Linked DNA regions of Homo sapiens: region 2 is linked to region 1. Evidence: promoter capture Hi-C in human tissues and cell types (Jung and others, 2019). All regions are on one chromosome and are shown on one strand. Each heading gives the region's core, a stretch centred on a gene start or on the middle of the fragment in contact. The rest is flanking DNA. Distances are from core to core; before and after follow the strand shown. Region 1 holds the start of NOVA2 (NOVA alternative splicing regulator 2). Region 2 holds the start of IGFL4 (IGF like family member 4).

The links. The method cuts DNA at HindIII sites, captures the fragments that hold promoters and counts their contacts. A contact is called where the count stands out against the background at its distance.
Region 2: a contact is called between a fragment that was not itself captured here and the fragment with the promoter of NOVA2 in region 1, in 2 of the 25 tissues and cell types used here (hippocampus and mesenchymal stem cells).

What each region holds. Positions count from the first base shown.
Region 1 is chr19:45,970,731-45,977,026 of GRCh38, reverse strand. NOVA2 (NOVA alternative splicing regulator 2) reads left to right here and starts at 3,162. Exons shown (of 4, transcript NM_002516.4): 1 at 3,162-3,760. The coding sequence starts at 3,676. RefSeq lists a silencer at 2,837-2,996. The HindIII fragment of the contact is 35,305 bases long and covers 1-6,296 here.
Region 2 is chr19:46,039,459-46,045,754 of GRCh38, reverse strand. IGFL4 (IGF like family member 4) reads left to right here and starts at 4,753. Exons shown (of 4, transcript NM_001002923.3): 1 at 4,753-4,811; 2 at 5,187-5,237; 3 at 5,339-5,598; 4 at 5,819-6,296. The coding sequence starts at 4,793. The coding sequence ends at 5,863. The HindIII fragment of the contact is 4,011 bases long and covers 793-4,803 here.

The DNA.
Region 1 (6,296 bases), core at 1,913-4,412:
CCAAATCATAACAGTCATTTAAAGGGGATATTGGCCAGACACGGTGGCTCACGCCTGTAATCCTAACACTTTGGGAGGTCGAGGCGGGCAGATCACCTGAGGTCAAGAGTTCAAGACCCACCTGGTCAACGTGGTGAAACCTTGTCTCTACTAAAAATACCAAAAAATTAAAAAATAAAAAATAAAATAAAAATAAAGGGGGTATTAACAGCAGCAGCAACATTTTCCAAATTAAAGAATGAGAGACTCAGAAAGGGTAAGGGCATGCCCAAGTCACACAGCATGTAAATGGCAGGGCCAGAACTCAAACCCAGGCTTCTGTAAGCTGACCTTCACTCCAACGAGCCCCTCCATATAGCTCTGCCAGGTTGGAAGGAAAAGGCAGGTTCGGGGATCCCCTGCCCCAGCTTGGTGGGGGTCTCTGATGTCCCTGACTCTGGCCCCTGCCCAGACTAGGGTGACTGCTCCCCTGAAAGCTCTGGGGTGGGGGCACAAGGGTGGCATGGATGATGGCAAAGGGTGCAGCAGCCCCCTCCGCCAGCCTCTGATTGGGGCCCTGCAGTCCCCCAGGATTTGGTGCTTGGAAAGCTGACGTTGGGTTGCTATGGTGATGGGTTTGGGGCGGTTGCCATGGCAGCAGAACTAGCCCGGGTTTAAAAATATCTAGCAGGAGGTTTGTGTTTGTGTGTGAGTGTGAGTGCGTGACCGACCGTGCTGTTGTGTGTGTCCAAACGGGAGGGCTCGATGGGGGGAGCGCAGGGTTGGGGCTGCAGGCATGCCTCGGGGGTGGGGGCTGAGCGGCACACAGCTTTCCATGTGTGTTGTGCGTGTCACTGAGTGGCCCGTGAAGTCCAGTTATTGTGTGCGTTAGCCTATGTGGGCCGTGTATCTAAATGTGTGTGTTGTGTGTGTTTACCCAATTTGTGTGCAAGGAAAGACTTAGTCTGTTCGTCAGTCTATACATCACATGTCGCTGATATGTCTTATGTAACATAGGCCATGGATGTCCTGTGGCTTTGATCATGGATTTGTAACTTTTCCGAGTGTGTGGGGCCAAGTGTGGAGCTGTCGTGGCTCTGAATGTGTGTACCTGGGACATACCTGCATATTAGATGTGTGTCTGTCTATTTGTGTATGAGAGCCTGTGTTGTGGCCTTGCGTCTGCATGACTGAATGTGCATTACAGATGAGTGTGTATGTGTGTGTACGTGTGCCTATCCCCTATAAGTGTGTCTGTGTGACTGTGTTGAGACCGTGCACCTGCAGCAGGGCCAGTGTGACTCTGTGTGTGTCACACAGAGGGGGAAACTTCACAGCTAATTTCATGGATGTTGGGATATGTACCTGTGTGGTGTGAGGCTATTTGACTCAAAGGGTCTAAGGTGTGGTACTCAGCCTGACCCCCGTATCTCCCTATATCCGTCTTGCCTCTTCCCCATCTCCATGGCAACCAGCTCCTCAGCTCCCTCCAGGAAGATGGAGGGGGAGGATCCAGACTGCAGTGGACCACAGCCCCCTCCCATCCCCCTTGGCTCTGGGGACAATGGGGGGGAGGGGACAGATGGGTAGCCACCCCATCCACCCCAGGCCATCTGCTACCCTCCCCCATCCTGGGGACCTGAGAGCATGGCAAGGGAGGAGCAGGGGGGGGTTGGAGCCGATCCCCCTGCCGCAGATCACGCAGTGGCCACAATTACCTGCATCCAGACCCCTTCTGAGCCTAATCTTGCCTCTGACCAACCCAGGAAGGAAAGATTCCTTGGAGGTTAAGAACCCAGGGAGAAGGAAATTCTTGCATCAAGGAACACAGAATAATAGCAATGATCCATTCCAAAGAAAGGCACCCTAGTTCCAATGACTTTGGGCTCTGAAATTGGACTTGTCCTGCGTTCTCATCCCAGTTTCTCTCTCTCAAGCTGTGTGCCCTTGAAGAAGCCACCCTCAATGTTCCCAGGCCTCCACTTTGTCATCTGAAAACAAATTTTTCTTAATGACATGAGTAGTAATACTGTACAAGGGCCAAGGCTGTTTTGTTCTCTATTGTATCGCAGCATCAGGGACAGTGCCTGGCACTTAGTAGGTAGGCCCTGAGTGCTGTTGTTTGAATGGAGAGCCAGTTGTGCCCCAGGGCAGGTGCTGCAGGCTGCAACTCCAGCTCAGTGAATTCAATCCTCTGAGCCCTTTCAGCATCACGGTGTTGATTCTTCAAAGGATGGATGAAAGATTTGAAGGGGAATTTCCCAGCTGAAAGGATTGAAAAAGAGTGAAGTGAAATTTCTTTCTCTTTCTTTCTTTCTTTTTTTTTTTTTTTTTTGAGACAAGGTTTTGCTCTGTCTCCCAGGCTCGAATCTAGTTGCTTGATCATGGCTGACTGCAGCCTCAAACTCCTGTGCTCAAGAGATCCTCCCACCTCAGACTCCAGAGTACCTGGGGCTACAAGCATGTGCTACCACGCCTGGCTAATTAAAAAAAAAATTTTTTTTTTGTAGAGATGGGGTCTCACAATATTGTTGCCCAGCTCGTCTCAAACTCCTGGGCTCAAGTGATTCTTCCGCCTCGGCCTCCCAAAGTGCTGGGATGACAGGCATGAACCACCGCGCCTAGTCGAAATTTCTTGTCTTGACCAAGTGAAGTCAAAGTAAGCTCCTAAGGCTGTTTCCTCATCTGTAAAATAGGGATAATAAGCGTAACTCACAGAGCTGGTCGCTCTGGGGAGTAAATGCGATAACGTCTGTGACGTGCTTGCTTGGAACCGGACCTGGCACACAGTAAGTGCTCAATAAACGTTCATTCAAGGTGAGGAGTGGGGACGGCTTGGAGGAGCCCGGGGTCCTCCCAGCAGCCTGGGGGAGTCGGGTCCAGCTCTCTGCCGCCGGGAGGGGCGTGGCCAACCCAGAGGGACGTGGTCCAGGCTTCAAGGCTGGACCAATGGGGGCGCCGAAGGGCGTGGCCCTACCCGGCATGGGCGTGACCTCGTTGGGTGGGAGGGGCCAGGCGCTGTGGGAGCCTCCGGGAAGAAGATGCTCGGGCCAGCAGCCACCGCCAGCCCCGTCGCCGCCGCCGCCCGCGCCCGCCGCCCCCCGGGCCCCCACTAGCGGCCGCCTCCGCCTCCCACTCCGGCCACGCTCCTCCGGCCCCCCACCCCGAGCAGGGTCTGGGGGGCTCGGCCCTCTTGCCCCAGGGAGCCAAGAAGAAGCGGGGAGTCCCGTCCCCCCAGTGGCGCGTCCAGTCCCCAGCCTCTGTGGTCCCAGGAGAGACCCCACCTCTCAGTTCTTTCCCGGCCCTATCGGAGACCCCCCTCGGCCCTGCCATCCTGCTCACGGCCGCTCTCCAGGCTCTGTCAGCCCCCCGAGAACCGGCTCCCCCCTACCCCCGCCTTCCCTCTCCGGGGCTCCCCCTCCCCCATCCCTCCACCGCCCCCTCCCCCTCCCACCTCCCCTCCCCTCCCCCTCCCCCGCCCCCCGCCCCCCGCCCCCCCCCACCATGAGGATGATGGCCGCCGGCGCGGTGCACGGCCTCTTCACGGCCTCCGCGGCCCCGCAGCCGCCGCCGCCCCCGCCGCCGCCGCCGCCGCAACCCCAGCCTCCCCAGCAGCCGTCGCCGCCGCCACAGCAGCCGCCGCCGCCGCCGCCGCAGCCGCCGCAGCAGCAGCAGCCGCCGCCCCAGGCCCCCCCCATGGAGCCCGAGGCCCCGGATTCCCGCAAGAGGCCCCTCGAAACGCCCCCCGAGGTGGTCTGCACCAAGCGCAGCAACACGGGAGGTGAGAAAGGGCTGCGGCTCGGGGCGGGGGAGCGGGCAGGGGGCCTCGCCTTTCTCCATCCTTTCCCCCCCTCCCGTGGCAGGTGCAAGGGCTCTGGGGAGGGGAGAGACACCCCTCCCCGAGGCGGGGGACAGAGCGGGGAGTTGAGGAGGGGGCTGGACCCCCTCCTCCTCTCGCTGAGGCCCGGGGCTGGGAGCTTTGTCTGCGAGGAGAGGGGTGGGGGGGAGGGGGTGATAAGTGTCCTTGGGGGGCGCAGAAGATGGGGGGCGTGGGAGCCTCAGGGCAGGTGTCTGTGTGTCCTTGAGGGGTGTGTGATGTGACCCTTTCGGAGCAGGGGTGTTCCCCGAGCTCGCGTGTCCTGGCTGGGGGAGGGGAAGGAGTAGAGGCCTGTGGACCGGGAGCTTCCCAGCCTCCCTCCCTGGGGATGTCCTGAACAAGGGTTGTCCCAGATGGAGGCTTGTGTGGCCCTGGCCGGATCGTGCGTGGGGACAGGCTGGGTAGGTGTGTGGGGTGAAATGGAGGAAATGGTGGGTGTGTAAAGCTAGGTGGGAGAATGTGAGGCTAGGACAGGTGTGTATGTGTGTGCGTGTGTGTGTATGTGTGCCCTCTACAGCCTGGATGTGTGACATTAGGGATCAGGAATATGACAGCATAGGGGGGTGTATGAGAAAGACAGGGGACAGGGGCTGGGCTCCATGTTTGAGACCCTCCAGCGGGTACGTGTGACAAGGAAAGGTGTGTGCTTGTCACCCCCAAGGGGGCTGTGGCAGAGTGTGACACATGAGAGGGTGTGTGTGACATGCAAGGAGGTGTGTGGGGGACACCGAATGGGCTGGCTCTGGGTGTCAGCCAGAAGAGGCCGTGTAGATCAGAGGAAAGGGGTCCAGTGTGTGTGACACAGGCGTGGCTGGTGAGGGGATGTGACAAGAAAAGGGTGTGGGTGTGACTCCAGAGAGGCTGTGGCTGGGTGTGACACATGGAGGTGTGCAACAGTGACATCAGAGGGGGTGTGTGCAACAGGGAAGGTGGGTGTATGACGAGGGAGAGGCTGGGGCTTGTGGGTGAAACGCACGAGGGTGTGTAAAAAGGAGAAGGAAGGATGGGTCCCCATGTGACAGGGCACGTGTGCATATGACACCCAGCTGTGTGTATGGGTGTAACAAGGAGAGGTGTGTGTGTGAAATGGCTGAGTGTGTGACACCAGAGATATGGGGATGATTCTGCATGTGTTTGACAAGGGAGGCTGTGTGTGTGTCCGTGTGTATTGGAGATTGCCGAATGTTTGACACCACGGAAGGCAGTGTGAGGGAAGAGAGGGGCTCTCCCTGGGTGTGTGACCCAAGGAGGTGTGTGTACCAGAGAAGAAAAGCCGAGCTGGGAACTCTAGGTGCATGCCCTGCCGTGGGGGGCTCAGGGAAGAGGTGGGGTTTTTTGGGGTCCTCAGAGCCCTGTCCTCTAGCTCCCTGGTAGGAGGGAGACCCCGCAGCGGACAAGCCCCTCCCCGCGGTCACCTTGCCAAAATCTCCACTTCCTCTGGCCTTTTCCTCCGGATGGGAGAGGGATGGCTTCAGGCAGAGTGCACCCTTTCCTCTCCGCCAGGCCTGGCAGTGGGTGGGGTGGGGGCCTCCTACCTCCTCCCTACAGATGAATACAAGCCGACTTTCTTCCTCCCATCCTAGCCCTCCCCCACCTCCATCCAGGTGGGACAGGAATCAGGGACCCCCTGGATGCCTGTGAGGGTGTCCAGCAGAAATTGGAGGAAAGGGAAGTTGGGGGAGGGGATGGGAGGGAGTTTCCTGTCCTTCTTCCTGCTCCCCCACCCCCAGCACACACATGAATATGTCCCCGACTTCCTTCCCTCCTTCCTGCCCCACTGCTGTTCCCAGTCCTGGAGAGGTCAGGGACCCAGGAGGTCCCTGAGCCCAGCCAGACTGTCTAGCCCTCCACCACCGTCCTCCAGAGGGTAGGGGGTTCCCACCTTTCTCTACAGGGACTGAGATGCTTAGAATCTGATCACTTCTCAGCACAACTTAACACTGATGCCACTGCTGCTAATAACAGTCACATCTGCCTACTTGGCACCTACTACTCTGAGACATGGGTTAATATCTCAGTACAACCCCTGGGAGACATGATTTGAGCATCTTTACAGATGAGGAAAACTGAGGCTCAGCAAAATGAAACCGCTTGCCCAAGGTCACACGGTTTCTAAGTGATGGAGCTAGAATTTACCCAACCCTAGGCTGCCTGGTTCCGGAGCTCCTGGACGTAACCTCTGTGCTATCCTGCCTCCCTCCACAGCGGGGAAACTAGGATGAGCCTTTAGGGACCATCTCCTCCAGACTGTCTCCCACCCCGCTTCTGTTTACTCATGGGGAAACTGAGGCCGGGAGATGCAGAGGGACAGGCCTCCATTGACAGAAACACACTCAGGGGCAGGGCTGGGCAAGGGTCCAGGACTTTGATCCCAAAATTGAGGGCTTCTTTCAATAATATACATTCATAGCTGGGGGATGCTGGGCCAACCCATCCCCTT
Region 2 (6,296 bases), core at 1,549-4,048, 69 kb before region 1:
AGAGGTTTTGTTCAGTTCTTTTTGTTCTTTTTTCTCTATTCTTGTCTGCCTGTATAATTTCAGAAGGACGGTCTTTAAGCTCTGAAATTCTTTCCTCTGCTTGAACTATTCTGTAACTGATACTTATGATTGCATTGTGAAGTTCTTGTGTTTTCCAGTTCCATTGGGTCAGTTATGTTCCTCTCTAAACTGGCTATTCTGTCAGCTCCTGTATAATTTATCATGATTCTTAGCTTATTTGCAATGGGATACAACATCCTCCTTTAGCTCAGTGAAGTTCATTATTACCCATCTTTTTCTTTTTTTTTTTTGAGACAGAGTTTCACTCTTGTCACCCAGGCTGGAGTGCAGTGGCGCGATCTCAGCTCACTGTAACCTCTGCCTCCCGGGTTCAAGCGATTCTCCTGCCTCAGCCTCCTCAGCATCTGGGATTATAGGCATGTGCCACCATGCCCAGCTAACTTTTGTATTTTTAGTAGAGAGGGGGTTTCACCATGTTGGTCAGGCTGGTCTCTAACTCCTGACCTCGTGATCCACCTGCCTCGGCCTCCCAAAGTGCTGGGATTAAAGGTGTGAGCCACTGCGCCTGGCCTATTACCCACCTTCTTAAAACTACTTCTGTTAATTCAGCCATCTCGGTCTCAGCCCAGTTCTGTGCCCTTGCTGGAGAGGTACTGTGGTCATTTGGAAGAGAAGAAGCACTCTGGCTTTTTGAGTTTTCAGCATTTTTGCATTGATTCTTTCTCATCTGTGTGGGTTTACCTTTGATTTTTGAAGTTGCTGACCTTTGAATGAGGTTTCTGTGGGGTCTTTTTTGCTGATGTTGTTGGTGTTTTCTGTTTGTTTTTCTTTTAACAGTCAGGCCACTATTCCACAGGGCTGCTGTGGTGTGCTGGGGGTTTGTTCAAGACCCTGGTTGCCTCCGTTTTTCCCGTACCTGAAGGTGTCACCAGTGAAGGCTGCAAAACAGCAAAGATGGCAGCCTGCTCCTTCCTCTGACCAGTTGTTGACCCAAACGTCCCTGTAGGAGGTGGCTGGAGACCCTTGTTAGGAGGTCTCACCCAGTCAGGAGGAATGGGGTCAGGGAACCACTTAAAGAAGCAGTCTAGCTACAATCTGGCAAGGCAGATGTGCTGTGTTGTGGGGAACCCTTCCTCATCTGGACCATTTGTATTCTCCAAAGCTGGCAGGCTAGAATGGCTGAGTCTACTGAACCACAGAGATGGTGACTGCCCCCACGACACCCCCACCCCAGGAACTTGGTCCTGACCCAGGCAGACTCCGGCCTGTTGCTGTTGGCTGGCTGGAATTCCAAGCCACTGGGTCTTAACTTGTGAGGTGCTGTGGAAGTGGGGTCCACAGAATGACACTGCTTGGTTCTCTGGATTCAGCCCCCTTCATAGAAATATGTATGGAGGGATGTCCTCCCTTGCTGCAGATCCCAGGGCCAGAGTACGTAAAACTCCTGGGTCTCTGTGAGTGCCCCTGTGGCCGCTCTGCCAAGACTCCACACAGCTCTGTGTATTGGACCCAAATCTCTGGGCGTGGGCTTATGTGGGGATCTCTTGATCCTAAGGTTGCAAATATCCATGGGAGAAGCATGGTTTCCCAGGCAGGGTTGCACAATCACTCACTGCTTCACTTGGCTGGGGGCAGGAGTCCCCATACCTCCACACTGCTCCTGGGTGGACCATCACCCTACCCTGCATTTCTTCGTTCTCCATGGGTTGAGAGTGACAACCTGTATATTTCAGTTGAAGATGCTGAATTCACTCACTCCTTTCATTCCTCTCTGTGAGTGCGGTGGACCACAGCTGCTTCTAGTCAGCCATCTTGCCCGCTTCCTGATCTATCCATTTTTTAAATGGACAATGTTTTTTGTATCTTTTCCCTAAGTCATAAGGATTTTTTTTATGTTTTCTTCTAGAAAATGTATAGTTTAACTTTTTATATCTAGATCATTTTGGAGTTAAATTTTGTAGGAAGTGTAAGCTTTGGTAGAAGATTTTTTTTTTCATATGCATGCCCATTGTCCCACACCATTTGTTGAAATGACTATCTTTTCCCACATTGAATTGCTTTTGCATCTTTGTCAAAAGTCAATTTGCCATGTTTGTTTGGGTTTATTTCTGAAATCTGTTCTGCTCCATTGATCTATGTATCTCTCCACTTGCCAATACTATACTGTCTTCATTAGTGTAGCTGGAGTAATTGTGAAATTGGGTAGTGTGAGTCCTCCAACATTTTTCATCAACCAAAATTGTTTGGGCCATTCTTGTTTCCACTGCCTTTCCAGATAAATTCTAGAATTATTTTGCTTCTATCTGAGACAAATCCTGCTTGGGTTTTCATTGGAATTGTGTTAAATCTGTAGACAATTTGGAGAGAATTGACATCTTAGCTAAAAAGCCCCATATTCTAAACTATGACATGATATACCACTCTATATTTAGGTTTTCCTTGATTACTTTAATCACTAGTTTATAGTTTTAAGCATATATATCCTCTACATGTTCTCCTAGATTTACAGTATACCTAAGTATTCAATTTCAGTAGGGGGGCATTATAAATGGCATTGTTCCCCTCTAAATTTTTGTTTCCACTTATTCCAGGAGCGAGAAATACAATTGATTTTTGTGTGTTGACTTTGTATTCTACAACCATCTAAATTTACTTATTAGTTCCCGGAGCTTTGGGGGTAGGTTTACGGTAATGGCTCTGCCCTACTGCCCCGGCGACCTCAAACATCTCCACGTGGGCCACGTTGGTGAAATTAACTGTAGCTGATGTATGTCATGGCAGAACACTCTCTGGTCTTCCCAGAACGTGAGGTCATGGGAGGCTTGTGGGAAGCTGCTACAGCATCACTTGTCACTCACTTCCCTATGGATAAGGGAGGCCGCCATGACACAGCTTCTCACTGCCTCTGGCTTCTAGGGAGGGATGAGGCTTTCTACCTCCCTATACCATGGAGCCACAGGCTGGATTCTCTACTCAGCAACAGGCATCCTATTATTCTTGTTCAGTCATCTGGCCCTTTTGTTTCAGTGTCACCCTGTATAAGGGACATGGTGCTGGCACCTGTGGCTCTTTCTTTCCCTGTCTGTGTAAGTAATAAAGTGTCTGAATCTAAAAAGAGCTTGTTTTTGTCACTAACAGAATCTGTCAGACTCACCTCTTGCTTGACAGTGGGTTCCGTGGGATTTTCTACATAGATAGTTCAATTATACAGAGATCAATTCTAGTAATCAGCTTTGGGATTTCCCTCCTTAGTCACTTGTACTCTTCATTGCAGCTTTCCCTTTCAAGTGGTCATAAATTTCTTGGTTGCTGGCTCGGAGTTATAATGCGGTATTCACACTACTTAACTTGATAAACAGGAATGTAGTTCTTATAGGTCTGTTTCCGCAGCAGCTGTTCTGTGTAGGTGAGAGAATGTGTCTTTACAGGTGGGATTTCTGTTTGGATGTGTGGGAAAGGAGAAGGCATATTGATAAGCAGACAAACAGACATATCTATGCAAATACGCAACTGCAGAAATAGGCGAGGAGAGCTAGTTTATTGCATGAAATCAATACCGAAGACTTGGACATCCAGTCAAGAAAGGAGAGGCCAGGCTGGAGTGCAAATAAGCACAACAACAACAAAATCAATGCACTTTGGGAGGCTGGGGCAGGTGGATTGCTTGAGCTCAGGATTCCAAGACCAGAACATTGTAGGACCCTAACTCTATGAAAAATACAAAAAAATTAGCCAGGCCAGGAGGTGCCTGCCTGTAGTCCCAGCTACTCAAGAGGCTGAGGTGGGAGGATGGCTTCAACTTGGGGGGCAAAGGTTACAGTGAGCAAAGATAGCACCACTGCCCTCCAGCCTGGGAGACAGAGAGATACGGTGTCTCAAAAAAAAAAAAAAAAAAAGAGAGAGAGGAGGGAGGAGGAAGAGACTCTAGAGAGTCTATACTAACAATGCACTTTTACAAAGCTCTAATACCTGTGCCTTATCCTTCTTTCACCCTCCCACCCTTCTCACTGTGACACAGGGAAGAAACCAGTGGAAAATGGAGGGGCATGCTCTAAAAATACGCCACATGTAATCCCATCACACAGTGAGACACACAGGAGCATTTTCTTGGACAAGGCACTCCACAAACCAAAAAAAAAAAAAAGGTGCTGCTTTCCTATCTGGAATCCCAGAGATCCATCCTACCACCGCCTATTTTTGTTGTTGTTGTTCTCCCTGGCACAGTTTTGCAGCCCCTGCTGTTCTTCTAGATTATGCTGCAACTTCACAAATTCTCCTACGTGACTCTGAAAAATTATAGACAGTGCAGGTCTGCAGGTGAACTGAGACGGGGAGTAGAGGGACTCCTTGAAACTTCAGGGTGGAGGAATATGGGGAGCCTAGAGACAGCCGGTGTTTGGTGAGTAATTTGATCTTAGATAAGCAAGAGTTAAGGAATATCTTCCAAGTGGTTTTCCCTTGGGCGGTGTTCAAAGAAAGACACTCAGCAGAGTCAAAGCTTAGATAGGTTCCTGGGTAGCCTTTACCCTGAGGATCTGAAGGGTCTGAGGAGGCAGCAACCACTTGGAACAGGTCCAGAAGCATCTCATTAAGCTTTTGATGAATTATTTATGTTCCCTGCAGCTCTTTTTGCCTAACTCTTCCCAAGAAACCACTCCTTCTGCACACCTCCCTAAATGGCGGTAAGTTCATATCCTATATAAGCCCCTATGTAAAGTCACTGACCCATTTCCACTGCTGCTCCCTCGTCCGCTGCTCTGAAGCCTAACCCATGGTGCCCAGAATTTCTGGTAAGGAGACCCCAGCCCTAGGCTAAGCTAATCCCTAATGATATCACATCCCTAATTATTTCTGAACTTCAAAGTTAATTCTCTCTTCCCTATTTAATTATTGGTGTCCCACCTCATAATCACTGCTATGTCATCTGTGACTGCATTGTAATCTGTCTCCTGAACTGCAAATTCCAGAAGCTTAACTTTTCCCAGAGCCCTCCCTGCCTTTCCTCACCTGCCAAGCCCAGTCCCCAGGACCTGCACCCACAGCCAGTCCCAAAATCCACTCTGAGCTGTTAACAGCAACCAGAGAAGCTCAGAGACATCATCCTGTGCCCCGTGGTCAAGACCTAGTGACCTCAGAATCATTCTCGCTCTCCTTCTGCTTCTCAGCTGCCATCTTCATTTTTGAACTTTTGGGTTCAAACTCAGAAGGAGTCACAGGTGAGAACAGATGCAGTGAGGGAGGAGAGAACAGCATTAAGGTTGGTGGGGAGGTGGTCCTAGGCTGGTCCTTGCAGCCCATCCAGCCCCGACTCTTCCAGATCTTAGACTGTGGCTATGCCAGCCAGCGCCCAGGTGCGGGGAGTGGACCTACAACCCCTTGGAGCAGTGCTGTGATGACGGTGTCATCCTAGACTTGAACCAGACCCGGCTCTGCGGCTCCAGCTGCACCTTCTGGCCCTGCTTCCAGCACTGCTGCCTGGAGTCTTTGGGCTCTCAGAACCAGACAGTTGTGAGGTTCAAGGTCCCAGGCATGAAGCCAGATTGCAAGTCCTCCCCTATCACCAGGATCTGTGCCCAGGTAAGGATCTGACTCCAGTCCAGGCTGTGGGAGGGGGGAGTAGGGAATGGAGCTTGGTTGTCCATGTCCCACCCAGATGTGCAGTCTCTGCTGGGTTCCATACCTTCCCATCTCTCAGTAACCATGCAACTCTGTCTTTCTCCATGTCTCTGTTCCTTCCCCGCCACTGCTGCTACCACCCTCCCTCTTATTCCCCTCTCCCACTTCTCTCCTTCTGCAGGAATACCACCCAAAAAGCCCTGTGTCAAGATCTGACCTCATCTAGACTGTTCTGGGGTAGCAGAGTCACAGATCACTCTAGAATCTAATACTTGGTAATTATACTGCATTGATTTTGTTGTTGTTGTGACAGAGTTTCACTCTGTCCCCCAGGCTGGAGTGCAAATAAGCAACTTCAGCAAAGTCTCAGGATACAAAATCAATGTACAAAAATCACAAGCATTCTTATACACCAACAACAGACAAACAGAGAGCCAAATCATGAGTGAACTCCCATTCACAATTGCTTCACAGAGAATAAAATACCTAGGAATCCAACTTACAAGGGATGTGAAGGACCTCTTCAAGGAGAACTACAAACCACTGCTCAAGGAAATAAAAGAGGATACAAACAAATGGAAGAACATTCCATGCTCATGGGTAGGAAGAATCAATATCGTGAAAATGGCCATACTGCCCAAGGTAATTTACAGATTCAA